Regions from separate parts of the Homo sapiens genome. Here regions 1, 2, 3, 4 and 6 are each linked to region 5. The links are contacts of gene promoters, found by promoter capture Hi-C in blood cells and fetal thymus (Javierre and others, 2016). All regions are on one chromosome and are shown on one strand. Each heading gives the region's core, a stretch centred on a gene start or on the middle of the fragment in contact. The rest is flanking DNA. Distances are from core to core; before and after follow the strand shown. Region 1 overlaps SELENOF (selenoprotein F). Region 2 holds the start of OMA1 (OMA1 zinc metallopeptidase). Region 3 overlaps HS2ST1 (heparan sulfate 2-O-sulfotransferase 1). Region 4 holds the start of SH3GLB1 (SH3 domain containing GRB2 like, endophilin B1). Region 5 holds the start of SRSF11 (serine and arginine rich splicing factor 11). Region 6 overlaps MYSM1 (Myb like, SWIRM and MPN domains 1).

The links. Contacts are between HindIII fragments. The CHiCAGO score rates a contact against its expected background, and 5 or more counts as called.
Region 1: a contact is called between a fragment that was not itself captured here and the fragment with the promoter of SRSF11 in region 5, in 1 of 17 cell types (total CD4 T cells). The highest score is 6.0, in total CD4 T cells.
Region 2: a contact is called between the fragment with the promoter of OMA1 here and the fragment with the promoter of SRSF11 in region 5, in 1 of 17 cell types (total B cells). The highest score is 5.2, in total B cells.
Region 3: a fragment that was not itself captured here is called in contact with the fragment with the promoter of SRSF11 in region 5 in 1 of 17 cell types (total CD4 T cells); the score reaches 6.4 in total CD4 T cells.
Region 4: a contact is called between the fragment with the promoter of SH3GLB1 here and the fragment with the promoter of SRSF11 in region 5, in 1 of 17 cell types (total CD4 T cells). The highest score is 10.9, in total CD4 T cells.
Region 6: a fragment that was not itself captured here is called in contact with the fragment with the promoter of SRSF11 in region 5 in 1 of 17 cell types (activated CD4 T cells); the score reaches 5.6 in activated CD4 T cells.

What each region holds. Positions count from the first base shown.
Region 1 is chr1:86,901,186-86,906,230 of GRCh38, reverse strand. It overlaps SELENOF (selenoprotein F), which reads left to right. Exons shown (of 5, transcript NM_004261.5): 2 at 2,783-2,950. Among named protein-coding and RNA genes, the nearest start is that of SELENOF, 10 kb to the left of the region's middle. The HindIII fragment of the contact is 1,155 bases long and covers 774-1,928 here.
Region 2 is chr1:58,543,267-58,548,109 of GRCh38, reverse strand. OMA1 (OMA1 zinc metallopeptidase) reads left to right here and starts at 1,384. Exons shown (of 9, transcript NM_145243.5): 1 at 1,384-1,407. It also overlaps a transcript of DAB1 not described here. RefSeq lists enhancers at 946-1,135, 1,349-1,975 and silencers at 1,536-1,635, 1,646-1,735. The HindIII fragment of the contact is 5,811 bases long and covers 1-2,211 here.
Region 3 is chr1:86,920,639-86,925,617 of GRCh38, reverse strand. All of the region lies in intron 1 of HS2ST1 (heparan sulfate 2-O-sulfotransferase 1), which reads right to left. Among named protein-coding and RNA genes, the nearest start is that of HS2ST1, 8.5 kb to the right of the region's middle. RefSeq lists a silencer at 1,920-2,098. The HindIII fragment of the contact is 2,489 bases long and covers 2,240-4,728 here.
Region 4 is chr1:86,703,326-86,708,173 of GRCh38, reverse strand. It overlaps SH3GLB1 (SH3 domain containing GRB2 like, endophilin B1), which reads right to left and starts at 3,598. Exons shown (of 9, transcript NM_016009.5): 1 at 3,203-3,598. The coding sequence starts at 3,274. It overlaps CLCA4-AS1 (CLCA4 antisense RNA 1), which reads left to right and starts at 3,681. Exons shown (of 5, transcript NR_135837.1): 1 at 3,681-4,567. RefSeq lists a silencer at 2,945-3,434 and enhancers at 3,259-3,760, 4,325-4,394. The HindIII fragment of the contact is 3,313 bases long and covers 1,100-4,412 here.
Region 5 is chr1:70,220,055-70,224,483 of GRCh38, reverse strand. It overlaps SRSF11 (serine and arginine rich splicing factor 11), which reads right to left and starts at 3,104. Exons shown (of 12, transcript NM_001350605.2): 1 at 2,645-3,104. The coding sequence starts at 2,847. RefSeq lists a silencer at 2,720-2,769 and an enhancer at 2,665-3,210. The HindIII fragment of the contact is 2,724 bases long and covers 1,335-4,058 here.
Region 6 is chr1:58,685,589-58,690,086 of GRCh38, reverse strand. It overlaps MYSM1 (Myb like, SWIRM and MPN domains 1), which reads left to right. Exons shown (of 20, transcript NM_001085487.3): 6 at 971-1,049. Among named protein-coding and RNA genes, the nearest start is that of MYSM1, 12 kb to the left of the region's middle. The HindIII fragment of the contact is 6,559 bases long and covers 1-4,498 here.

The DNA of each region.
Region 1 (5,045 bases), core at 102-2,601, about 17 Mb before region 5:
TGTCTTATAGTTAAACTAGAGAGATCAAACACACAAATTAACCAATAAAGTCACAGTTCCCTCCCACTAGGCTGGGATGTCTCATCTGTTTTGAAAAATTATACATATGACATTATTACAGAGATAAGATTAAAGATGTATAAAATATCACGTCAGCATTTTGGGTGAATATGCCAACAAGTACTTAAATTTTCTTTTCATTGGGAAATGCCACTGGATATTAATCTACCTGGTGAGTTTAGAAAAGGATTGACACACTGCAGCTGGTGGGCCAAATTCAGTCAACCCAGTTTTTGTAGAACAAATTAACATAACAAAATGAAGCAAAGTTTCATTGGAACACAGACACATTCATTCATTCATGTGTTATCTGTGACTAGTTTTTGCACTGCCATGGCTGAGTTAGATAGTTGTACAGAAACCATATGGCCACAAAAGCCTAACAAAATTATCTGGCCCTTCACATAAAGTTTGCATACCCTTAGTCTAGAAGATCAGTCAGTTGCAGTCAATCTGAAATTTCCCCTACCTGACGCTATGGCTTTGTGCGATTTATTTATCCAACAGATATATGAAAACTGTCACAAGTGAGGGAAAGACAGAGAAACAACTTAATGCTTGCCTTCAGAAGAGTTCATAGTATTGTTGAGGAGTCAGATTTACATAGTACAGTGTCACGAACGGTACTGTTTTACAACTGTGCACAAGTTTCTCGGAGAAGAAAAGTACTCTGGCTAATGATTGAGATCTGATTTTTTTGGTCAGTGAAAGCTTCCTAAAAGACTAATACTGATTAGATTCTTGAAAATAAGTAAGATGTTACAAGGTGAAGAAGTGGAAACAGAACCTTAAATATAGGGGAGACTGTGAGCAAAAGTGTGTTTGAGTAGGGCTTTTATACTTCAAGATACTATAGGAATTCCTTATAGCAGGAGGAATTGAGGAAGTAATGAGAAGTAGCCTTGGCAGTGAGCATTTAAGCCACTGAGGCAGGAAAAGACTTGAGAGCTTTTTAAGAGAATTATAAAAATATATTAATTGGTTGTGAGAATGGTGAAGAATATGGAGTGTAGGTCAGTAGGATGACTGATCTGGGCAACTAGCTTGTCAGAGAAATGATGCCATTTTACTAAGATACTGAATACCTTAGGAAGAATAGATTTAAGAAAAATATAAGTTTCAGTGTTGCAGATTTTGAACTTGCAATGCATATTCAACACCTAAATGTGATATTGAGTGGACTGTTGGCTTTGGAAGCCTGACATTCAAGAAAAATACTTGAGAGTTTTCAATAAATGCATATCTGAAGCCATGGATAAATATGCAGTAATAAATAGAAGGCATGTAAAGCTAAGAGAGAGCCAAAAACAGAACTGTGGGAAACAATAGCATTTAAGAGATGCATAGAAGAGAAAAGTAAAGGAGGACAGGCCTTTGGACGGGGTAGTTGAAGCAGAACAGTTTTGAATGCCTTTGCATTTGGTAATTTTGGGCAAATTTTGTGGAGTAGTAGGAGCAGAAACCAGGCTATATTAATGAGTTTGGGGTGTTAGGAAAAAATAAAGATAATAGAAACCAAGTTATAGTAACAATTCAGAAATGACAGAACGTGGGAAGAGCAGTTAGGACCATAGGGCTTAAATATAGCTAAAGGTTGAAGTATTGATGAAATGAAGTATCTGTTAAGATAGAATCCAAAGAGGAAGTAGAGGGATTGGCCTTAGACAAATGGAGGTATACCACATTCACTGATAGGTAAAAAAGAATGGATGAGGGAAGGGAATATTGTTGAAAGCCTGCTTTTGTCAGCCATTCTGATTGATTAAATCATCTCTGATTTAATGTAACGATTTATGTAAGGTAACCATAGCAATCTGTTTTATGTAGGAAGTATTGCCCCTTAATTTATGAGTGAGGAAATTAAAGCTTAGGGAGGATAGTTTGCCCAGGGTCACGAATCTTGTAACTGGTGGCACTATTACCTAAAACCAAAAGTTTGAATTCTGGCGTGCTCTTGCCTGCACCATCCCCTTTCCCGTCCTTCTTCTGCTGGATGTGACTGTAGATAAACCCTACAGCTAATCTTACTCCATAGACCCATATGAACAGATGTTGAGTTCTTAAAATGAAACAAAAATTATTTTTTCTTATAAGAAAATTCCTTTTTAAAACAATAAATCTTTAAGAAAATATTTATGTGATAAACATCATGAACAATGATATGCCTTTTCTTCTTAATCCATATTTTAGCTAAGCTGAAAGATGATGGATGTTTAAGAAAAAAAGCTTGTAGGGGAGGTGGGAGAAACCAGACTATTACATAAGGTTACAGAGTTTAAGAAAGAATTTATTGCTGGGCGAGGTGGCTCATGCCTGTAATCCCAACACTTTGGGAAGCCAAGGTGGGCGGATCACGAGGTCAGGAGATCAAGACCATCGTGGCCCCCGTCTCTATTAAAAATACAAAAATTAGCTGGGCGTGGTGGCATGCGCCTGTAATCCCAGCTACTAGGGAGGCTGAGGCAGGAGAATCACTTGAACCCAGGTGGCAGAGGTTGCAGTGAGCCGAGGTTGCACCACTGCCCTCCAGCCTGGCGACAGCAAGACTCCGTCTCAAAAAAAAATAAAATTAAATTAAAATTTAAAAGAATTTATCTCCAAATGAAACATTTCAGTAACTTGTCTTCAATGTGTTAGTTTTTGACAACCCCGTGTTCTCTTTTTGGAAAGCTTTGTAGTATAAATATGGAATTGTGTTTTATTTCCCATTTTTTATTTTCAGGTGTCTGCTTTTGGGGCAGAGTTTTCATCGGAGGCATGCAGAGAGTTAGGCTTTTCTAGCAACTTGCTTTGCAGCTCTTGTGATCTTCTCGGACAGTTCAACCTGCTTCAGCTGGATCCTGATTGCAGAGGATGCTGTCAGGAGGAAGCACAATTTGAAACCAAAAAGGTACTGTTTTCTAGTATATTCCTTCCATTGGATGGTTTAGTTGAGATAAGGTAAAAATGTAAGTTGCTTAATCAATTTAAGTGTAAAAAAGCCTCTAAGCTTTTACATTTTTTAGTAAAACTCAACTGATTTCTTGTCTGGCCTATTAGTTCAATCAAAGCAAATATGAAGGAGAAGTATGGTTGCATACCAGGATCCCATTCCACCATGATTGTCAAGCAAAGGGGAAGTAGAATCCCTATAACATGCTTTGATCCTGTAGTTCTCCAGTCTTCCTAACTTCTGGCCAAATGAAGCCAAAAAATAATAGGTGCTTTTGTTCATTTATAGTAAGAACCCAGTGTTGGATGAAACTTGAAATGAAAGTAAAGCACATAATACCTGGCACTTAATTGTCTACAATAAATTGTAACATGAAATCTGGTTAAAAAGAATATGGACTGTTAGTTTACACACCTATTGCTAGTAATTTGAGACACCTAACCTCACCTTTAACATCTGAAAACAGAGCCAAGGATAGGTAGTTCAGTCTCTCCAGGTAAACCTACTATGTTTTAAAACCTGCTGTTCAAACAAATTAATAGTGAACTTGCTCATCTTTTAAATATTTTCATCAAAACTCTTAGATTTATTTAAATTATAAAGTAGACTGGAAAGATCATTTGAGTTGTCCAGTTAAAACTAAATTGGTAAGATACCTGTGTTTGTAGTGAGAAAAAAATGTTAGCATATTTCTGTTGTTTCCTTCCAGTACTGTCTTTGACTTGTACATGCTGAATTCTGTTTGAAGTATTATGGTTTGTAAAGCTTTCAGGCATAATGATGTGTTATTATTATTGGTAGTAAAGGTTTGTTTTTAACAGTAAGTGCATTTTCGGAGTTCTAAAAGAAAAACAAGCAGGCAAGCTTTGAAATGTTAGTATTCAGCCAAAATTTAACCCTTGATTTCTCTGTATCTGAACCTGAAATTCCAAGTATCTCAAAAATGGCTTGCAAAGCCTTACATGTTTTTCACTTTACTGGTTCACATATACCAGTAAAACATTTTAATGTTTAGAAGATTTCTTTACATATAAGTTATTCTTTTTCTTGCATGTAAATAAAATCTAAACAAGTTTTTAAAACTTGATTTTAAATAGATTTAAGACATACAACTTAACTAGTTTAGTAGACCTTTTGCTGCCCCTCTGTTCTTTTTGCTGAGGTATTCACATGGGACAAATTGCTGAATAAATCTGTATGAGCCATCCTCTCCTTATCTTTAAGCTGTTCTATGGGCTGTACTACTACTCAACCAACATCCTTTTTCACTGAAACACCAAACTCAGAAGGACTGAAGAACAAGGGGCATTTTATAATAAACAGTGTTTACCACACACACCCCCTTGTGATTAGGGTAAATTGAGAGGTCTGCTATTTGACAACAGATATGCCAAAACTGTAAACCAAATGCATGTAAAAGCTATTTTTACTTACTGCCTTTTCTTAGTAGTTCTTCATAATACCCCAGTTTTTTGGTATAATTTTAGTAGAACCAAACTTGCACCACAAACCTCTAAAATTAATTATATTCCTATTCAATTTTCATTATTAATGGAGCTATATGTTGTATCTTGACACATTTCAGCAGTTGCAGCTCAGCAATAAAAGTAGATCTGCCAATTAATATATGCCCAGCTAATTACAAGCTGGAGTGATTATCGTATCTAAGTACAAGTAAACCTGTCTTAATGCATCTTTTACACTGAATCCAGTGTTTTTAACTTTGCTCCTAGCCCCTAATCTCTAAGATGTACTTTTTATTAGCATTGACTAGCACTCTTTGCACAAAACTGGTGAATTTTTTTTTTTTTTTTAGTAAGACTAGTGAAACCAAAACATAGCAAAAAACACTTAAAAAATATTACTGGAAATATAAAAGTATGGTATGTTGGGCAATCCTCCCATTTAGATGCAAACCACATGCAAGTATAGAAATAGTGCTAGATTTAATCTATGCAATATTGTTCTCTGGATTTTTGGTACATGATCATGGATAACACAATATATATAATATACTTTTCTGTGTCACTCAACTCTGGCTTAAGGCTTAATT
Region 2 (4,843 bases), core at 135-2,634, about 12 Mb after region 5:
GTCTTGAGTTATCATGGTGGGGAAAGCCAATGGGAAGCCTCTGAAGCTGTCCTTCTTTCCAAGTGAAGATAATAAATCAAAACCGATATTTCATCTGAGGGGATAGTGAGATGATGGTGGAGATTAATGTCATAATTAAAGACCTGAAATATACAAGAGTGGTTGGTCATCCCTGCCATATCTCTACTTAACTTGCCAGTCTGGCCCCTTTGGAAATCAGGTGGACCCAGGATAATGACATAATGGCTCTGCGCAGTCCAAAAGGAGCTGGATCAACTGGAAATTCCAGAGAACATCACACCCATCTATTTCACCAATGACATTATGCTAACCAGGCAAGATGAGCAAGAGGTGGCTAGCATGCTGGAAACTTTGGTAAGACATGTGCACTCCAGAGTTTGGGAGATAAACCCTACGAAGACTGAAGGACCTCCTACTTCAGTTTTTAGGGGTCCAGTTGTCAGGGGTTTTCCAGGATATCCCTTTCAAAGTAAAAGGCAAATCATAAAATACACATAAGATAAACGAAACAGTAACTTACACATTTTCCAAAAGAGATACCTAAAATTGTTCATAGTGTTTATGTCCTTTGACATAGTGTTTATGTCCTTTGAGATGTTTTCATTGTGCACAGAGTGTAAACATAATAAACTAATATGAGACCTCACTACTCATCCATCACAATCCAGTGTTTATTTGTACTGGCTTATTTGTACACTTTTATTTATTTGTGTTTATTTGTACACTTTTTTTTAATCGCCTGTCTTTCCTCACTGTGATATAAAGTTCACGAAATTCAGGTCTGTCTTGTTCACTGCTACATCCTTGGCACTTAAAATGTAGTTGATGCTCAAGAAATATGTTTTGGTGAAATGAATGAAACATACTATACACATAATTTTGGAGCCAGCTACTTTAACCTCCAGACACTTAAGATTATACTTCATCTTTCTTAAAATGCGTCCCTCCAAAAATCATATGAAAGCACTGTTCCCATACTCCAAAGACTATTTCTATGAATGCAGATTCAGAACCAGGAAGCCTTCGTCTTTTGGCAGTCTTCGAGTCTCTTCCCTTTTGGCCGGTACTGCCGTAGAGACTACAACGGACACAGCCTTGCGTGGATCATTCTTTAGAGGACCCAACTCACCAAAGACGGGAGAAAGTTGTTCCTAGGCAAGCAGCCCAGCCCAGGGCCATGTCCCGCCTTAAGCCACACGGAGGCGCTAGAGCGCCACAGTCTCCGCGGGGCCCGGGGCAGCTGGGAGAACGACTCTGGGCGGCTGTATTGACTGCCGGGTGTGGGCGGAGCGAAGGGCGCCCCGGCCGGTATGGCGGGCAGGAAGTGCGGGTGCGCGCCTGCGCATAGGTCGGGTCTGCGGTGTCACCGCTTTCGCTTCTGCTTGAGTCAGTCCTCACGGTGACGCTTTTCCCCAGCTTTTCCGAGTAGGATCGTGCCCAGGGGAGGAGGCAGAGTGCGGCAGTGGGGAGGGGGCGGAGCGCAGAGCGCCTGCGGGGGCGCCCGGGCAAGGAGTGGGGATCCTTGGGGATGGGGGTACGGGAGGAGGCGTGGGTGGGCGATAAGGCTGCGTGGAGGGGAGGGGCGGGGGGCGCCGGGGCGGGAGACGGAGGGGATCTGTCCTGGGGGAGCCCGGTTCTCCCCTAGCCTTGCCCGGGGCACGCCGGTGACCCCGTGTGTCTGCCCCGTGGCAGTACTTTCGTGGGCCGCCTGCCCTCCCCCTCAGCCCGCCCTTATCCGCGGCTCCGCTTTCAGAGCAGGGTTTCTCACCCGCGGGGCTTCGGGCTCCTCACCCGGCACCTCTGCCAGAGGGGACCGCCTCCCGGCGCGTCGGGCATTCGTCTCTTTCACCCCTTCCCTCTTCAGGAGAAACTGAACACGTTTTCCAGCCTAAACTCGGCAGGGCAAACCAGAACATTCCCCGTCTAAGCAGTTCCGGGGAGTTTTAACAATTTCCTCGTAAACTCGTCTACAGAACTCACTGTATACTGTTTAAATGTCGCCTGTGTGTGGAGCAACAGTTTTATTGTGCCGTGCAATCCTCAACAAGAAATTGTAGTCCAGGGAGATGAAAATCCCTTATTTGGCATTCAGGCGTTGATCAAGGTCGTGCAACCCTCGCTAAAAGGATTTAGGTTCATCTCCGTCATTCTCAGCCGGGGTGAAGGGGTGTAGTCTGACATTTGGAAGCTTAAGAACCAAGTCTGCTGCCGTCCAATTCTTTTTTAAAGCCTTCCATCATGTGTGTACTTTGCTTGAATGATTATTTTAAAGTACATGTCCTATTTTTGCCAATCTGACAGCTGTTTCCATAGAAACTAGAGAAGAAATAGTCATTTTCAGCAAGAGTTGTTAAAACTGTCTTCCAGGCTTCAGCTGTGAGTGCCAGTGAGTGCTGCACTTGCTCATTCGGAGATGGTACTTAAAGAATTAAGGATCTGAAATGTTCGTAGAGGCTAACAATCCAAATTGTTTAATTTTCTCACATCATTAATTTTGTTATCCTAGAAGTCTGCCAGCTATGTTTGTTGACCTGCCACAGCTCTTTGAAGAGAATATGTCAGCCCTGATTTTTTTTTTTCTTATGTGCTCTGTAGTCTAGTGATTGGCTCCTTGAAAATGCATGAATAGATTTCTTCCCTCATTCTTTACCCTTTCTTCAGGATAAACCGGGTATTACAAAATATCAGGCACTGTTTCTATTCAAAACGACACTTGGTTGTCAGTGATAGAAATGATAATGGTTTTAATTATATATGCGTAGTGTTGGGGCTTTTGCTTATACCTTCTGTGTCAATAGGATTCTTTTAAAATTTTTACACAAGTCATGAGAAATGAGAAGGAGTTTGCTTGTCATGTGCAGAGCTAAGCAGTGTGAATAGATGTGCATAGACATAGAGATGAGAGCTTTCTTTTTCTGTGGGGTGTAAGTAAATCAGGGAGTTTGGAATTTAGGAATGGGTGAAGGAGGGTTGGGGAAGGTGCCTGGAGAAGTAGTAGGAGGGCCTGGTTCGCCATATGAAGGAGTTTGTGGAAGCCATGGAAAACCAACGAAAGTCCAGGCGTGGTGGCTCATGACTGTAATCCCAACACTTCGCAGTGCAGTATGATCAGTTGAGCCCAGGAGTTAAAAACCAGCCTGGGCAACATAGTGACACACCGTGTCTACAGAAAAAAATTAAAAAATTAGCTGGGCTGGCCAGGTGCGGTGGCTCAGGCCTATAATCCCAACACTTTGGGAGACCGAGGTGAGCAGATCACTTGAGGCCAGGAGTTCGAGACTAGCCTGGGCAATTTGCCGAAACCCCGTCTCTACTAAAAATACAAAAATTAGCCAGATGTGGTAATGCATGCTTGTAATCCCAGCTACTGAGGAGACTGAGGCACGAGAATTGCTTGAACCCAAGAGGCGAGGTTGCAGTGAGCCGAGGTGGCACCACTGCACTCCAGCCTGGACAACGACAAAGTGAGACCCTGTCTCGAAAAGAAAAGAAAAACAATGGGAATTACAGAAATAGTTGCCTGAGTGGAGGTTTAAAAAAGTAATAATACATCCCGTAGAAATTTGAACTGCACAGAAATATATAAGGTGAAAATACTAATAATCCCTCTTAACCACCATCCTGCCATTCAAAATAATTGTGAATAGTTTGGTGTATCTTTTTTCAGATTTATTTTTGTATATACTAGCATATTTTCTCATTACTATTTTTGCAAATTGGGGAGGGTTTTTTAAAATCTGTTTTGTTCTCTGCAGTATCTCTAGCATCCATTATGGTGCCTAGCATTTAGTGGGCACTCATTAAACATTTTCAGAATGAATGAATAATAATACAGTTCAGAGGTCAAAAATACAAAATCTGAATGTTTGGTTAAGGTCGTTAAAATTTTTTAAGTTCATTGCCAACATTTAAAAATTGATAAATTTCACCTAAAATCTGAAATTCTGGCTTTACTTAAAAGTTTTGAATCATTTGGCCACAGCAAGTTCAAATTCCATCATAACTGTTTGCACCTCCTTTAGATGGTCATGAATCTGCATTCACATCAGTATCACTTTGCTGATATTCACTTGCCTGGACCCTACAAACCTGTACTGTGCGATACAGTAGACACTAGCCACATATGGCCATTTAACTGAGTTAAAAATTTCATTCCTCAGATGCACCAGTCACATTTCAAATGCTCAGTAGCCACATGTAGGGGCTACCTTATTGGACAGTGCAGACATGAACATTTTTATCATTGTAGAAAGGTCTGTTGTATGGTGCTTCTTTAGACGTTTGAGTTTGCCACCTCTGTTATACAGAAGTTTTTAGGTAGCATTTATTATTATTTTTAAATTTGTATATCCCTTTGCCAGAGATTGCTATCTTTTAAATCTTTTAAAGATTTACAGATCATCATGTCATTTTTTAAATGATTACCTGGTATTTACCAGGGTAGGACTGTATGTTAATTGTCGGGGTAGGATTCTGTTGCCAGGGTTTGCATTTTAGAAATAATGCTTTAGCTCTAGTTTGGGGTCAAACTGTAGTGGGAGGGGTTAGTGGTGAAATAAGGCAGGGAGATTAGGTGGGTAGTGATCAACACCATAAGACCACAGAGCCCAGGAAAGGCTAGAATGAGATAAGAAGGAGGTAGAATTGACATGACTGATTTAATGTGGGCTGAGATATTTTGGATGCTAAAGTTGCTGTAGAGATAATCCAGTATTTCTGGAACTGATTAAATGTTGAAAATTGGTAAATTTGGCTTTGCAAAGTGTAGGAGGAACCCTCAGCTAGTTCCAGTAAACAACATGTATAATATTAAAATGCTGTC
Region 3 (4,979 bases), core at 2,235-4,734, about 17 Mb before region 5:
ATCTGATGGTTTTAAAAAGAGGCGTTCCCCTGAACAAGCTTTCTCATTTTTTGCCTGCCACCATCACATAAGATGTGACTTACCCCTCCTTGCTTTCCACCATGATTGTGAGGTTTCCCCAGCCATGTAGAACTATTAAACGTCTTTTAGTTAATTGTTGTCTTGGGCATGTCTTTATCAGCAGCATGAAAACGGACTAAAACAGTAAACTGGTATCATAGAGTGGGGCATTGCTGAAAAGATACCCAAAAATGTGGAAGCTACTTTGGGACTGGGTAATAGGCAGAGGTTAGAACAGTTTTGAGGGCTCAGAACAAGACAGGAAAATGTGGGAAAGTTTGGGAACTTCCTAGAGACTTGCTGAATTGCTGATAGTGATATGAACAATAAGGTCCAGTCTAAGGTGGTCTCAGATGGAGACAAGGAATTTGTTGGGAACTGGAGCAAAGGTGGCTCTTGTTATGTTTTAGAAAAGAGACTGGCAGCATTTTGCCCCTGCCCTAGAGATCTGTGGAACTTTGAACTTGAGAGAGATGATTTAGGGTTTCTGGTGAAAGAAATTTCTAAGCAGCAAAGCATTCAAGAGATGACTTGGGTGCCATTAAAGGCATTCAATTTTAAAAGGGAAACAGAGCATCAAAGTTAGGAAAATTTTAAGACTGACAATGCAATAGAAAAGAAAATTTCATTTTCTCAGGAGAAATCCAAGCCCACTGAAGAAATTGCATAAGTAACAAGGAGCTGAATGTTAATCCCCTAGACAATGGGGAAAATGTCTCCAAGGCATGTCAGAGGTCTCCATGTCAGTGCCCCCCCATCACAGGCCCAGAGGTTTAGAAGGAAAAAATGGTTTCGTGGGCCAGGCCCAGGGTCCCCGTGCTATGTGCAACCTAGGGACTTGGCACCCTTTGTCCCAGACCTCCTGCCATGGCTGAAAAGGGCCAACGTAGAGCTCGGGCCATGCCTTCAGAGGGTGCAATCCCCAAGCCTTGGCAGCTTCCACATGGTGTTGAGCCTGCGAGTGCACAGAAGTCAAGAACTGAGGTTTGAGAACCTCAGCCTAGATTTCAGAAGATGTATGGAAACACCTGGATACCCAAGCAGAAGTTTGCTGTGGGGCGGGGCCCTCATGGAGAACCTCTGCTAGGGCAGTGTGGAAGGGAAATGTGGGGTTGCAGCCCCCACACAGATTCCCTACTGGGGCACCACCTAGTGGCGCTGTGAGAAGAGGGCCACTGTTCTCTAGACCTCAGAATGGTAGATCCACTGACAGTTTGCACCGTGCACCTGGAAAAGCCACAGACACTCAATGCCAGCCTGTGAAAGTAGCCAGGAGTGGGGGGCTATATCATGCAAAGCCAAAGGGGTGGAGCTGCCCAAGGCCATGGGAGCCCAACTCTTGCATCAGTGTGACCTGGATGTGAGACATGGAGTCAAAGGATATCATTTTGAAGGTTTAAGATTTCACTGCCCCGCTGGATTTCAGACTTGCATGGGGCCTGTAACACCTTTGTTTTGGCCAATTTCTCCCACTTGGAATGGCTGTATTTACCCAATGTATCTAGGAAGTAACTAACTTGCTTTTGATTTTACAGGCTCATAGGCAGAAGGGACTTGCCTTGTCTCAGATGAGACTTTGGACTGTGGACTTTTGAGTTAATGTTGAAATGAGTTAAGACTTTGGGGGACTGTGGGAAGGCATGATTGGTTTTGAAATGTGAGGACATGAGATTTGGGAGGGGCCAGGGGTGGAATGATATGGATTGGCTGTGTCCCCACACAAATCCCATCTTGAATTCCCCTGTGTTGTGGGAGGGACCTGGTGGGAGGTAACTGAATCATGGGGGCAAGTCTTTCCCATGCTGTTCCCATGATAGTGAATAAGTCTCAAAATATCTGATGGTTTTAAAAAGAGGCATTCCCGCCAGGCGAAGTGGCTCACACCTGTAATCCCAGCACTTTGGGAGGCCAAGGTGGGTGGATCATGAGGTCAGGAGATCAAGACCAGCCTGGCTAACACAGTGAAACCCCATCTCTACTAAAAATACAAAATATTGGCCAGGCGTGGTGGCAGGCACCTGTAGTCCCAGCTACTCGGGAGGCTGAGGCAGGAGAATGGCGTGAACCCAAGAGGCGGAGCTTGCAGTGAGCCGAGATTGCGCCACTGCACTCCAGCCTGGGTGACAGAGTAAGACTCTGTCTCAAAAAAAAAAAAAAAAGGCGTTCCCCTGCATAAGCTTTCTCATTTTTTGCCTGCCACCATAAGATGTGACTTGCTTCTCCTTGCCTTCTGCCACAGTTGTGAGGCTTCCCCAGCCATGTGAACTGTAAGTCCAATTAAGCCTCTTTCTTTTGTAAGTTACTCAGTCTCAGGGCGTCAAAACGGGCTAATACAGGATGTTAAGGAAAGAAATGATACATAATTTTTTAAAGACCTATATTAAACTTCTAGAAGGGCAGGGGGAGGAGTGGGAGGCAACGCCTGAGATAAAAAATAAACTGGGTAATATTAAAAGTGGATTACATACTGCAGAAGGATTGGTGAATTAAAGACCTAGCAGTAAAAACTATCTAAAACAACACACACACACACAAAAAGACTGAGAATGATGAATAGAACATCACTGAACTGTAGAACAATTTCATGTGGTCTAATGTAAGTGTATTTTGAGTTCCTGAGAGGAGAAGCAGCATAGAAAAACTAACGTGAAGAAATAATAGCCAAAAATGTTTAAATGTAATAAAAACTGTAAACTCACAGATCCAAGAAGCTCAACAAACCCCAGGCACAAGAAACATAATACAAGGGCACAAGAAACATAATTTAATAATTAAATAATTAAAAACCTAGTGAAACTCTTAAAAGTAGGCAAAAGAGGAAAAATAAAAGACACGCTACATATAGTTGAACAAAGAATGATGGCAACCTTCTCATCAGAAACAATGCAAGCCAGAAGACAATGAAGCAATATCTTTAAAGTACTGAAACAACAAAAATGTCAGCTTAGAATTCTATACCCAACAAAAATATCCTTCAAACACTATAGCAAATAAAGACTTTTTCAGACACACAAAATGAAAAGAATTCATCACCAGTATATTTTTAAGTGTAAGTAATGTTAAAAGAAATTCTTCAGAGTGAAAAAAATGGTACCACATGAAAATCTGCATACACACACACACACACACACACACACAAAATGAAGAACACTGGGAATGGTAAATATGTCAGCAAATTTTTAAAAAATTTTTAAACATTTTATATATTTTTAAAATATAAGTTAAAGCAAAAATAATAATGTATTGTAGGACTCATGTATAGAAGTAAAATGTATAATGACGATAGCAAGAACCCAGAAAAAAGTGGTAATATATTAAGGTTCTTATACTACACATGAAATTCTATCATGTATACCATAAACCCTTAAGCAACCACTTAAAAAAAAAACAACAACAAAGAGCACTGCTAGTAAGTCATCAAATTAAAAAATGGAATTTAAAAATACCCCTTTAATCCTAAAGACAACAGAAAAAAAGGAATCACAGAACAGTTAAGATAAACAGAAAACAAATAGCAACTCACGAATTTAAACCCAACCACATCAATAATCACATTAAGTGTTCTAAACATTCCATTAACAAAAGAGATTGTGAAATTAGATGAAAGATTAGATGCTGTCTACCAAAAATCCACTTTAAATATAAATACACAAGTAGGTTAATATTAACAGGATGGGAAAAGATATACCACCTGACACTAATCAAAAGAAAACTGAAGTGTCTGTATTAGTATTAGACAAAGTAAGTATCATAGTCCATTGTGTGGTACTATAACAAAATACCTGAGACTGGGTAATTTATAGAAAACAGAAATGTATTTCTTCACAGTTCTGGAAACTGAGAAGTCCAAAATCAAGACACCAGCATCTGTTGAGGGACTTCTTGTGGCATCCTCACATGGTTGGGGGTAGAAATGGCAAAAGGGGGACAAATGCTGTCTTCTTACGTAGAAAAAAGAGAACACACTGCCACAAGCTCTTTTATAACAGTATTAATACAGTTATGAGGGGAGAGCCCTCATCACCTAAACACCCTCCACCTCCCGCCCCAATACTGTTGCATCGGAGATTAAGTTTCCAACATGTGAATTTTGGGGGAGACATTAACACCACAGCAGTAGGTTTCAGAGCAAAGAATATTACCAAGGATAAAGATGGTATCTTGTATAAAAAAAAGGGTTGGTCCATCAAGAAGACATGACAGCCTAAATGTGCATATACTTAATCACAGCACTTCAAAATACATGAAGCAAAAAGTGACATAACTACAAGAAAAACAGACAAATCCACAATTATCAAAGATTTCAAAACCCCTCTCCATAACTGATGAAGAGGCAGAAAAAAATCAAGAATACAAAACACCATAACAATACTACCAACCGACATCTACAGCATACTTCAGCCAATAACAACAGAATACATATTTTTCACGTTCACCTGGAACATTTACCAAGATAGTTTTTTTTTATTTGTAATTGACAAAACTGTATATATTTATCATGTACAACATGTTTTAAAACATGTATATATCATGGATGGCTAAATCAAGCTAATTAAGACAACATGCATTACCTCACATACTTTTTTTTTTGGTATGGTGAAAACACTTAAAATCCACTCTCTTAGCAATTTTCAAGAATACATTGTGACAGGAGAATGAGGGAAAGCTTCGGGAACCATGTCTTTAGGTAAGTGAGGCAACAGAATCAGGTGCACAAATGACCGAACAGGAGCACTGACAGTTACCATCTATTGTTAACAGGCAGAAAGGCAGAATACGTAAGTACAGGTACTGGTAGGTGGGTAGATCTTAAAAATAACTAGGCTATAGTGAACCATGATTATGAAGTTCATCTATAAGTACATCCTTCAAAAATGGTCTTCTGGAGAGCAATCTTTGAACATTCATTATTATTTCAA
Region 4 (4,848 bases), core at 2,349-4,848, about 16 Mb before region 5:
CTACCACACAGCATTCCAAATTTCACATGTTCTATTTTAGAAGCATCCTTTTTTTCTTACAAATTTTATCTTTAAAAAAGTATTATGGAAAATGTCAAACATACAAAAGTATAACAGTATAATGAAACCTCATGAACCCATAACCAACCTTCCACAACTATCAACATTCCGTTGCTGTTGTTTCAGCGACTTCTGTTTTTTTCTTTTGAAATATTCAAACGCTAATCTCAACTGGTGTGGTGGCTCACACCTGTAATCCCAGCACTTTGGGAGGCCGAAGCAGGTGGATCCTGAGGTCAGGAGTTCAAGACCAGCCTGACCAACATGGTGAAACCCCATCTCTACTAAAAATGCAAAATTAGCTGGGCGTGGTGGAGCCTGCCTGTAATTCCAGTTACTTGAAAGACGGAGGCAGGAGATTGGCTTGAATCGGGGAGGCGAAGGTTGCAATGAGCTGAGATCGCGCCATTGCACTCCAGCCTGGGCAACAAGAGCCAAACTCCATCTCAAAAAAAAAAAAAAAAAAAAATACCCTGTAAAAACCAAATCTCAGATATGATATAAGTTTATCCATAAACATTTCAGTATGTATCTCTAACAATTACAGACACATTAAAGAAGTCTGTTTCTCCTAAAATTTTTCCCTTAATAAACGGCTCAAGCCAAAACCTTGGAGTCATCCTTAACTCATCTTTCTCTCATACCTCACAGCCAATCCAACAGCCAATACTGGATAATTTGGAACCTTCACTGCTACCACTGTAATCTAAGTTACAATCGCCTTTTACGTGTATTATGGCCACAGCTCCTTCATTGGTCTCCTTAATGCCCCTGAAACTTCAGTCTTTGTACTTCTTCCTGCTGCCTGAAATACTTTTATTCCAAAAAAAACTAGGTCTGTCACTTCCTTGAGGTCTCTTGAATTTCATCCTATTAGAAAGACTTGCCCTGACCATCCTATCTATACACGATACTAATGTTAGAAAATACTAATAAAGATATTAACAACCACCATCTCTGCGTTATTCTATTCTTCTGGCCATGATTTTTATCACCACCTGATGTATTTACAAGCTTATCTTCCGCTACAATGTAAGCTTCAGGAGGGCAGACACTTTGCTGATTTTATTCACTGCTGTATCACCAGTGTCCACAGTAGCCACAAGCAGACATCAGACATGCAGTAGACACTTAAATATTTAAAACTGAAAAGAAAATTATTTGATGGCTAACAGATTAGCATAAAATTTAAAACTTTTTCCTAAAGAATTTGAAACAAGGAATTAAAATTCTTTGGGAAGTACACATTTTGAGAGCTTTGCTAGATTTAATTTTTTAAATTGAGTCTATCCACAATTTAAATCAGACTAAATTCTAGTAAATGTGTCCTCTTTAAGGGGTGTGAGTTATACGTCTGAAACATATTTAACTGTATTTAAAAGAGTAGCATTATACAGTGTCAAATCCTCATAAGCATCTAGAATTATAGGTAATGAGCACTAGGACAAACAAAAATACCAAGGGCTCTAGTCCTCTATTGCAGTCAATGTTAAAAGTGTACAAGTGTCTCACACATCAAAATTCATTTCACACCCTCAATCACTCATTCTTCTTGCACCTTGTCTTTGAACTATTAGAAGCTAGTGAATTTAAATCAAAACATTATTTTAACTATAAAGGCTCAACGTCTACAATATATCATATTTTAGGGAAGGAAGGGAAGAAAAGGGTTAAGGCAGCTAGCTTATTACTCACCATGCAGATTTTAGAACTTAGAAATCAAAAGCTAGAAGGAATTTACCATCTCTAAAGTGTTACTTGCTTGTTGATATGGAAATGCTCAGATTGAACCAGATGATTTTTAAGGTCTCTCTAGGCCACAGCATTCTATTATTCTAGCTATCTTAAATCTGGAATGCTTATCCCGGAAGAAAAAGCAGCTGGGAGTACTAGGTCAGACAGCACCTGGTTATTTACTAGTTGTGCAAGTTTCTTAACCTCAGTAAGGCTGCTTCCTCACATATATAAAAGGGGTTAATAACATCTATCTGGCAAAGTTATGGAAAAGACTGGAGATAATATGTCAAATGCATTACAAAGTGCTTGACAGGTTTTTCATAATATAGGCAGCTATTACCTTGCTCTAGCTCTACTACTCTTTTGCCAGGGATAGTGCAATGTAGGATCAACTGTGCCAACAAAATTGGGGCAAAGGCAAGGAAAGTAGTAAAGCCACAGAACAGATTTACATTTCAGCACCAATTTGGTATGCATATTAGAAAATTATTTTTGTTTTCTTTTTACAAAAGAGAATGTTGTTGCTACCGTGACCGTAAACACCAGATTGTTTATAATTCATGTTGTGAAATTTACATCTGTTCACAGATTTACTGAGTTGGCATAACATGGGTGATGACTGTGGGAAACGGCCCAAGTTCCTTAGTACTGACACTTCCTTGATTGTAGAATATCGAGAGGTAGTCAACTTTTCCCCTTAAAGTATATTTAAAACATACTACTGTGACTACAGCCATAACAATATCCCCGCATCTCTCCTTGATCTACAGCTGGTGCTTCCCATTTTGAAAAAGAGTGAAAACCCCCCAACCCTAGGTTTCTTGTGGTCTTGGCAAAGTCTCAACGCCAACTGGCGATCTCCATTTCCCCCGCGGGCTGCCAAGCCCAGGACAGTCCTTTCAGGGAGAAAGAGGGCCGGAGGGAACTGTGTTGGCAGCTCTCTGGGTTGAAGGACAGGAAAAGGAAACTCCCTTCTTGGACTCCGAGGGGAGGGTGAGAGACGAAAGGAAAGGGTGGGGGGTAGTGCAAGAATGGCCTGTGTCTCGGTTACCGCAAAGGACTCGCAAGCCTCCGCCAGCCCCGGGGTGGAGGCCACAGGAGCACTGACGTCGTGGTATCAGAAAGGCGGACAGTGCAGCCTTAGTGTTCCCCAGGGGTGGGAGGAAGCTCCCGGCCCCGTCCCCACCCCGCCTCGCTTCCCAGGGAGCGGCGGTTGGGCAGGAGCGGGGCAGAAATCCGCCGCCGGGCCCGGGGAGGGGACCAGGCCGCGCCCATCTCCCAGGCCTCTGGCTGCAGCAGGCCCGCTGGGTGGTCGGCGAGGCCCGGGGGCGCCGCGTCGAGCTGCGGTCCCCTCCCTCAACCTTCCCGGGCGCCGCCACCCCTTTTCCCCCCAGCACCAGGGTACCTGCACGGCGCGACTGAGGAAGGTGCCTGCGTCGGCCGCCAGCTTCTTCACGTTGAAGTCCATGATATTCATCCTAGGCGGCAGCCGGGCGGAGCCGGCCGACCTAGCGGCGGCGAGGCGGAGGTGCCGCGGCCGGGCTGGGGCGCAGGGCTAGAGCGGCGAGGGCAGACGTGGTAGGTGGAGGGAGGCGGCGCCAGCCCCGCAGCCGCAGCTGTCGTTTCCGTGAACGGGGAGGATGAAGGCGGGGCGAGGGAGGAGAACAAGCGCGCGGCGGCAGCGCCAAGGATGGGTCAGTCGGCTCGGAGAACGGCCGCTAACGTCGACGATGGGCCCCGCGGGCGAGCCGGAGATGGACGGGCGACCCCGCCGTGTGGACCCGGGTCCCAAGGGAAAAACAAGCGCGGGCCGCGGGGCGGAGCCTTTCTCGAGGTTATCGCGGGAACAGCGACCCCTTGAGGATTGCGGCGGCGCAGCCCCGGGGCGCGCCGGGAGCTCCGCCCGGCTCCTGTGGAGGAAGCGGCGAGGGCGAGCCGCGGGGTCTCGGCGCCTCTGTATGCTTGCACTTAACGAGAACCCAGAGCGAACACGACCCACATTTCTCTTTTTGTTTTAAGAGGAAATATAGGAGTTACAGCATAGAATTACAATATCTGGACATTAGAAATAACAGGTCCCGGTCACGGTATGGCACCGCGCGACACACTTGGTCCCTGAGGCCTGGATGCCGCTCAGCAAACGTTCGCGGAATAGGGTTGGGTTTACTGTCCCCCACCGAGCCGGTTGCTCATTCATTCAGCATAATTGAATACCTCCTGTGTGCCAGGCACTGAATCAAGTGTCGGAGACAATGTCCTGCCCTCAAGCTCCTGGCCGGTTACTTGACAACCTTCCGGGACCTCAACGCTATGTGCCTACTGTGTGAAAGCAAAGTGCCAGGTGGAGGACACAAAGATGGCGAGCGACACAGGATAGTCCTTAACAATTAAGCGTGACTAATTTTAATAACAAATGAGAATATGATGTGACATCCGTTCCAAATCCTGTCGTTCCAAGTAACTTCTTAAGCATCTTTCACGATACAGCCTCTGCTTGAAAGGAATTAAAACAGGTACAAGCATGGAAGGAGACGTTGCTATCATATTTCAAGAATAAGAAAATGCTGTTTTGTGTGGTTGTGCAGCAGGCAATGAAATGAGCTTACATTCAAGCTTCCGTGTTTTACTGAAACAACAGTCACAGATGCAGTAGATGTTAAAGGTTGAAAGACGAGTGCAGTAAAAGCATTATGAGGACAAGAAGAAAACGTAAATATTTGTGTTGTTTCATTCTTTGTTGTGGTGGCAGAAACAGCCCCCTCTTTCTAAGGTAACTCCAATATAATGATCTCTCCCAGCTTTGAAATACTCCATGTCTGTTTCATTTTCCAGAAATATGGAAAAATGAATATATAATAAAAAACCCTATTTCTCATTTATTGTCTATTTTAGATCTTTATGTGGAAAAGCACTTACTCTCTTCCCAGAGCACTGTTTTTAAAGTAGGTATATTTGCCATAACCTATGCTCGTCTCTACAAAAGGATCACACCACCGTGTCCACCATTAAAGGGGAAATTCTTTAATGGTGGACACAGTGGTGTCCCTGAAT
Region 5 (4,429 bases), core at 1,855-4,354:
AAGTTGTTAAACTTAACCTGTCAACTGGTGACAGGTGCTATAGAAAAAAAGTAGTGTTAAGGAGAATAAAGCAGCAGCAGAGGTGCTTTATTTTACATAGGGTGGTCTGGGAAGTTTTCTCTGATTAAGGTGACATCGGAAAAATAAAAGTAGTTAAGCATGTCACAGATATGTCTAGGGGAAAAAGAGTTACAGGTGCATGTCACTGCCTTCTTGGGGGAAATCATATAGTTTTCCCTCAGTATCCATGGTTTCAGGACTCCCTGCAGATAACAAAATCCACAGATGCTCAAGTCTCTTATATAACATGATGCAGGGAGGGGGAAGAGGTGGAGGAAAAATAAAATCATGGCATATTACCTGTGCACATCCTCTTGCATACTTTAAATCTCGTGATTACTTATAATACCTAATACAATGTAAATAGTTGCTATACTGTACTGTTTAGGGAATGACAAGAAAAAAGTCTGTACATGTTCAGTACAGACGTTCTCTCCTTATATTTTCAATTCACAGTGGGCTGAATCCATGGATGTGGAACCCAGAGATGAAGAAGGCCAACTGTGTAGATAATAGTTACAATCAGGTGACCTGTTCACAACAGATAGAATTTTATGTAATCTGAGCCATTCAATGTTATGAATAAATATTTTTGGAATGATGAACCCTGTGGACCACTGGGAACTATATGCAACTTGTGCCAGTCAGATTAGTGTATTGAAACTTATAGTTAAAAAAACAAAATGCAACATCAAGTAAATAAAAGTAGCCATCTACATTACTGATCAAATGTAGAAGGCCACTAATAACATTTAACTTATTGTAACCTTGTACATTTTAAAAGACAAAATGATCTTGTATGTGGGAAGATAAATGAAGGAGTCAGAGTAAAAATGTGTCAATTTATCTCTCTTTCTCCCAATACTGGGAAGGGAGTCCTTTTAATGCAGAATATCCCAGATCATATAGTTGAGGGAGACATTCTCAAGCACACACTAGCTGTCCTGGTTATGAAGGAACTATTCATTTGATTACAAAACAAAAAGACTCTGGTCCATCACAACTTCCTCTAGTATACTGGTCATGCATTAGGTAAAAGATGAACCAGTATAATGCCTACATCTCTCTTACCTTTTTTCTAAATGCATCATAAAACTGCCTTCAGAGAATAAACAGCATTTAAAAGTCAGCAACCATAACAAAATTTTTAACTTGTAGGATTGGAAAGAATTGTAGTAATTCGAATACCTCAAATATCTCACTAATAAAACTATTAAAATCATCCAATGTATCACTATTTTCTGCTATTTTACTGTTCATTAATTTTACAAGCTTAAAACAGTAAGTCTTGAGAAAACTGAACAACAGCAAAGCATCTATTTTTGTATGTTCATGTTATGAAAGCTATTTGTCTTTCATTACCAAATCAAGTATCTGTCAAAATAACAGGAATAAAGATTTACGTGTTTGTTCCCAGAACTCCACGTCATGCAAACTAAGTAAATCCTCTCTCCACATGTACATTTCCCTAAAAATTAGAAACATACCAATTTGAAAACACCAATAATCTTGTGAAAGTATTTTAAGTGGAAAGTGATGAAATATGCTAATACTTAACAAATATCTCATTATGATAAACTTTTGTCAATTATTTTATTGAGCAGAAAGTTAATGGTTACACGTACCATAACAGTAGATTCTTAGAGGATTCCAATTTCCTGTTTAGTATTTAAGTGACATCATAAAATTCTCAATATATGATATTTACTGATAATGACATTTGAATTGTCACTTCTCCACCAATAAGTCTTCCAAAAAGCACAAGACTATTATTATTATTCCAATTGTCTGTTTTAGTAGTACACTTTATCTTACTTCTTAGCTTCTTTGAACTATTTTTTCTTTACAATTCATCCACTTAATATTCTTGCGATAGAAATAATTTTCAAAATAAAAGTGAGACAAAAAGGATAAAAAGTCATACACTCTAATTCAAATTTCAACATTTATAAAAATCCTTCTCAAGAACAACTGTGAAATATCACAAATCTGTATATTATTCAAACAAAGGAAAATCTCTGGTTTATAACCCGTTTTTTGACATTATACAAATTAAGTAATCAGGCTCACACTAAACTAAGCGTCTGTCAAAAAGAATATGATCTTTGAATTATATTGCTGGGCCAGAACCACATAACAGCAATAACAATAAGTGAACAACCTACAAAGTTTAACACCAAATTAACACAGGCATGAATAATTTTGTTACCTTTCTTCCAAGAACGCAAAGAACAAATACTCAGTTTTTTAAAAAAGGGATTTAACCTATATACGACGTACAGACTGCGGTTAGTCTTGCGTTAAGTCCCCAAAGCCAAACGACCACGTTGGCACAATTTAAGGCGGAAAAAAAAAATTTCCCGAGAATAACAGCCAGTGTTTCCTAATTCCAAAAAGCCCTGGCCCTGCCTCTCTGCATTTTTTTGTAGGCCTGGAACACAACCGTCTTAAGTAAATCCACCAGCCACCAGCCACTCAAGCAGCCTGGCCCGGGGAAGCAGCGACAGGGGCCTAAGGAAATTGTGTGTGTTAGGCCCAGGCTGAGGCGGCGTTAGCAGGAACAGTGATGGTGGACGATACTCACTCCGGCGGGAAGAGGCGCAGTTCGTCGATCTTGCCTAGGAAACCGAAGAGAGTCCGCATCTGCTCAGAGCTAGCGCTCGGGGAGACATTAGTCACCTGGATTACCTCGGTGCCGCCGCCTCCGCCGCCACCACCACCTCCGCCACCGGGCCCGCCGCTGGGGCCCGGACCTGCAGTGCTGGGGACGACGGTAGTGTTGCTCATGGCGCTGCTCGGGTTCTCGCTCCTGCTTTAACACATCAAACACACAACAAACAGTGAGAAGGAGGGGGAAGAGGAACCGGATTGCGGGAGAGAGGAGGGTGTCCGATGCTACAGCCTCTGCTACTGCTGCCGATGCCGCCGCCGCCGCCGCCGTTTCTCCGCCCCGCCGCACGCCGCGGGGGAGGGGATGAGAGCGCGCGAGCTCGAGACCACGAGAAAACAAACGGCCGCCCCACCTCGCCTCCAACCACGACACTAGCGGGCCCGAGCTCCCACAATGCTTTGCGGCGCAGGGCGCGTCAGCGTCGGCTCCACCCCGCGCAGGCCCAGCAGCCGTCGCCTGCAGCCCGAGAAATGAGAGGCACCGGGGTCTAGAGAAAGGTGTTATCCACCTTCGTCTCTCGTTTTATTCTTCTTTTTCTTCTCTCTTTTTTTTTTGGAAGAGCGAAGAGGCACGTATAAACTTTTTTTTTAAAAAAAGCATTCATCCTCCTGCAAAAGTCACTTCAGCAACTCTTCTTATTAAATACTGCTCACGATGTCTTTATATACTGATAATCATCTACAGAGCTATCCGATTACTAATGATATTTAAACCCAAGCTAAGATGCCACCCCACCACCACCAGTATAAAATGTCCCGAAATTTTCAATGTACATGAATTTTGGTAACATTAAATCTGTAACTAATTTGTTTTGTCACTAAAACTTTCAGAAAAGATATATTTTAATATTACACTTATTAATAAGCGTTTTGTACATTCATTCACAATGGATGACTTTTTTTTTTGAGACAGAGTCGCCCTGTCGCCCAGGCTGGAGTGCAGTGGCACCATCTTGGCTCGCTGCAACCTCCACTTCCCCTGTTCAAGCCATTCTCCTACCTAGGCCTCGGGAGTAGCTGGGATTACAGGCGCCTGCCACGACGCCAGGCTAAGTTTTGTATTTTTAGTAGACATGGGGTTTCACCATGTTGGCCAGGCTGGTCTCCAACTCCTGACCTCTGGTGATCCACCCGCCTTGGCCTCCCAAAGTTCTGGGATTACAGGCGCGTGAGCCACTGCACCCAGCCAATTCCACAATAGCTGACTTTGGAAACACAGTTTATAGTACTTAAATATATTCAAGTATATATTTCTAAAGAAAATACTGCAATTTCTCAAGAAAAACTTGTTTCACATACATATTCTTGCTTAAAATAATTTTGAAGCTTTTGACTATTAAAAAAATCCTTGCTTTTGTTTTCAACCTCATCTGAACTATTCTCTCAACTGCATCCAGTGTGTAGTCCAGTGACTTGTAGTGCCCCAAACATGACAAAAACCATAATGTCTCTGTGCCGATACACAAGTTATTAATAACATCACTCATCTTATCTGTCATCTTCTGTAGAGCATTCCTTCCCTCACTGCTATGACTTCTGCAAGCTGTTAGGGCTTCCTCTTTTCTGCTAAGTAACAGAAGATACATGTATTTATTATTGACATGTATCACTCAAAGTTGTGAGCTTCCTGGGTCAGTCCAGAACCTGGCACAATGTCTGTCACACAGTCAGTCCCAATGAATGTGCTGGACACACGCAC
Region 6 (4,498 bases), core at 1,546-4,045, about 12 Mb after region 5:
ATGTTGGAGTGGCACAAGTATAATTTTATGGTGTTATTTACTTGCCAGAATTTCTTTCATGGCCCTATGTAGGCAATTCTTTCAGATTGTGAAAAATATGGTTGTCCAGGGGTTTATGGGGAAATTTTGAGAAGCTGTTATGTGATATATTGGAATTGACTTGATTTCTTTTACTCTGTCAGTTAATTTTCACTTATTTTCAACAAAATTTTCATTTGGATTTGTGGCTTTCAAAAATTATCTGGAGAAATTAACTATTTTAAAAATATCCTTTCCCTATAATTGAAAAAACATTATTTAGCATTTATGACTTTGGAAGTTTATGGTCCTTTAAAGGGTGGTTTACGTATTTGCAATTGCCCAAGAGGTTGAGTACTGAGCAGCCTTTTGCTTTTGTATTTTGCTGAATAAACAATGAAATGAAGTTAACAAAAGGATTAATGGGTTGCTTAAATTAGTGAGCTTCATCAGTTTTATTTTTAATTCCTTGAGATAATGAATTTTAAAAGCAATAAATACAATGCTGTAGTTTTTGACTTCTTTTCTAAATATTTACATGGATTTACATGAAAGAACTAAAGAGATAGTATTTGTGGAACCAATTTAAACTCTTACATGCCTTTCAGGATTTGGGAATGTATTAACACCTGCTGCTTTGTATCCAGTCTAAGGGAGCCTATTTGTTTGTTATCACATTGACTTCCTTTGATGTCTTTTAGTGTTACCCTCACTCAGACCCAAGGATTATGTCTTTTGGGGCTCCCATCATCCTGAGCTAGAGACACGTGACAGGGTAAATCTCTGCCCCCAGGTAGAGGCTGTAGCCTTCTTGTTTTGTTTGTTTGTTTATTTTTAATTCCTAGACTCAAAGTATTGAATTTAGCCCATGGCTATCTATAACCTTTAGTTACATAAATATGGAATGTTCCATTTCAGAAATTTTTTTTGCAATTCCTTTTTTTCCCCTCAGGGTACACTCTCCTACAAAACCAGCCAGTTACTCAGTAAAGTGGACGATAGAAGAAAAAGAGCTGTTTGAACAAGGGCTGGTAAATAGAGCAATTTTAAATTTTTAGTAAAATAATTCTAGAAGCAAATATTGGTAAAGTTATAAGGTTAAATTAATTTATAGAGACCTGAATTTTCTTTTTAATTACAGTTTTAACACCTTTAGTTCTTCTGTAGTTAGAGTAATGATGTTTATAGTGTAGTGCAAGAGAATTCCTTTTAACTTAGATCTAAGGTACTAAAATACTAAAATAGATTTAGATCTGTAGTTTTCACGTTCTTGTGGTATTATCAAAATCCAAGAAATTGAGGTATATCTGTATACATGACACCAACTACCTGGATTAAAAGGCAAAATTATTTAGTAATCTCTTTTTTTTTTTGAAATAAAATAAAAACTTGTATATTTGAAACTGTTGGGGTGATCAGCTGAGTTTTTATTCAGATAATTTGGCATTGTATACACTGTCTAAATATTTCAGCGACTCTAAATGAAGACCAGAAACATTTTTTTTTTGCGTGAATGTCTATTACACTGAAATCTATTTAAATGTTCACAAGTTGCATAATGGAAAAGATACGTATTCTGGTTTCTAATTCTGAAAATACCCCTTAATATGAAGAAACTTTAAAAAAAAATACTTAGGATTTTTTTTTAATTTTTTTACTATCAAGATTAGTTTATATCTTTTCCTTTAAGGTGCATGATACCTAGTAATGTTCTAAGTAATTTTGAAATTATGTATATTTATACATTACATATATAGAATATTTGTATATATAAAATTTATGTATGCTAATTGAAGTATCATTAACATTTCTACAGATGATGAGAATAAAATGTTTGTGTTTGTATTTTAGTCAACACCATGAGATCTGTATACTGTATGATATTCTTATATAAATATATAAATGATCTTGAGGTTTTTATCTCTTCAAGACTTGTTCCTATACTGGTGATTTTTTTTTTATATTGATATTTCAGTGTGTTGTATGATTATCATTTATATGATCTAACTTTAATTAATCATTTATTTAAGATTCCTAACAACTTTGGTGTTTTGCCCCTTATCAAAGACCAGATACATAATGTTAGGTCTTAAAGAGGAGGTGAGGGTTAAAGAAAGACACACACACACACGCAGAAGGAGGGCAGCTCAGCAGCAAATGCAGGCTTTATGTCCAGCATAAAACCTACAGAAGTGGGAGACCAACCTAATGCCAGAGCCCGCTGCTGCTTATAGCCTGGGGCAATTTATAGGTATCGGCAGAAGAGGTCTGGGCAGTATGGCTTGCTGCCCAGCAGGACATTGATAAGATGTTCCCATGATGAGGCAGTTCTGGCCCTTGTTCCGGCGGGATGTCGTTGTGGTGTTCAGGTGTTTTTTGGACCTTTGTCAAGCAAGATAGGATAGGGATATTTCTTTAGTTGGGCCTTTGTTTGTCTTGTAGTCAGGTGGTTAGGCAGGATACTTCTCATGGCCTGAACCCCTGTGAAATGTTTCACTTCGACAAAGGTCTGCAAAATAGCAGGGAGCTTACAACATGGTGCAGTTTGTACTAACATATATGCTTACATCTGCAAATAGATTGAATTTAAGGTTCATTTTTGGGTTGTTATTTTTTATGTTGGTGGTACTTATGGGGACTACATTTGCATGGTTTAAAATTCAAAAGGTTCCTAAAGTTATAGGGTATTAAGTCTTCTCACTCTCATCTTAGCCTTCAGTTCGCTTCGCCCGGGGTAACCAGTGTCTTCTTTGTGTTTTCTTCCAGAGATATTTGTCCATATATAAGTAAATATGTATTTATTTATATAGAGATATGTAGACCTCTGTCTATTTACATTAAGGGAGATTTTAAACTTGGAATGTTTTCCTACACAACAAGCATGGAATTATTAGTTGTATTTTCAGCTTTTTTTTAAACCATTGATAAAGTTTGCTTACAGACTGAATTCTCTCAGGCTTGGGAGTAGGGACTTGGGTGGTACTGATTGATGAAGAAAGGCTTTTTTCCTTCCCTTTTTTGGGCATGGGACTCTCCCTTTGCTCTATTTTGAAACTGGTGAATATTTTCTTTGCTCCTTTTTTTATCTTCTTTTTTTTTTTTTAAGAAACAAGGTCTCGTTATGCTGCCCAGGCTTTGAACTCCTGAGTTCAGGTGATCCCCTTGCCTCAGTCTCCTGAGTAGCTAGGACCACATACATGTGCCACTGTGCCTGGCTTCTTTGCTCCTCTTGTTCGTGTTCTTTCCCCAATTTTTCTAGTGCCCAAGTCCCTACTCTTCTACTAATCATATCTTAATCCAGATCTGTCCTGTCTCCACAAATGCTCCATGCTACCTACCAATGTTATCTATTTGTCTTCATCCCACAATAAAGATAAGTAGTTTTTCATCAAGTTGATCTCAGCTAGGTGTTAAGAGCAATCTTAAATAATTAATTTATATTTACTAATAATTTTCAGAAGCACTTTGAGTTTAAGAAATTGTCCATATGTCATATTTTCTAATGAGTATCAGAAATTTACTTAAATTAAGGTTTATCACTTGGGTGAGATCTTTGAAAATGATTTGCTACCGTAAGGCATGACTGCCTGGCCTGTAAATCTGACAAAACTTTTCCTAAGTTGTGGCTAGTTTTTTGTTTTTTTCATAGTTTTAAGAATTCTAAAAATATAGAATTATTTAGCTACCTTAGGAAGTAGAGAATATCTTATGTTGGGGATATTGCAGAGAGGATTTACGTATTAAATTATAGTTAGACTTGATACCTAACAGTCCCTTTTAGCTGTCAAATTATGTGTTCCTTTCTGTGCTTGAGAACACACAGGAGCTCCCTCAAGTTGTCATTTTTTTTTTTCCCTCCACAGCTTCAGTGTTATGACGTGCACAGCCTTTGACACCTGGATGTGGGAGGTGTCAGAAGGCATTAGTTGGAGGGTAGGCAACATAGTGAGACCCCATCTCTACAAAAAATAAAAAATTAGCCCGGCAAAGTGGTGCGTACCTGTAGTCCCAGCTACTGGGAAGGCTGAGGTGGGAGGATTGCTTAAGCCTAGGAGGTTGAGGCTGCATGAGCCGTGATCACACCACTGTACTCAGCCTGGGTAACAGAGTGAGACCCTGTCTCAAAAATGAAATAAAAACTGACAACGACATTAACAGGAGAAAACCAGAGTTTGTTGATGTGTGCAGCATATACATATGCAAGAGAAACTCTGATGAGTAATGAAACGGGTAGTTAGAACTTGGGGCTTATAACATCTTAACAAAGAAGACATTTGTTGCAGGACTTCCTCATTTGTGATTTAATCGATTTAGTCTTTTAGGTCAGTTCACTGTGATATCTGATAGAGTAAAAGTCTCTGCTGTGAGATACATAATGGATATTGCAAAATAGGGAATCTGAGTTAAAAAAAGTGTTGAAATTAGCACAGAACATGTTCAGTTGATCGTATAAATGGAAAATGTAACCTGTACCCCTTTC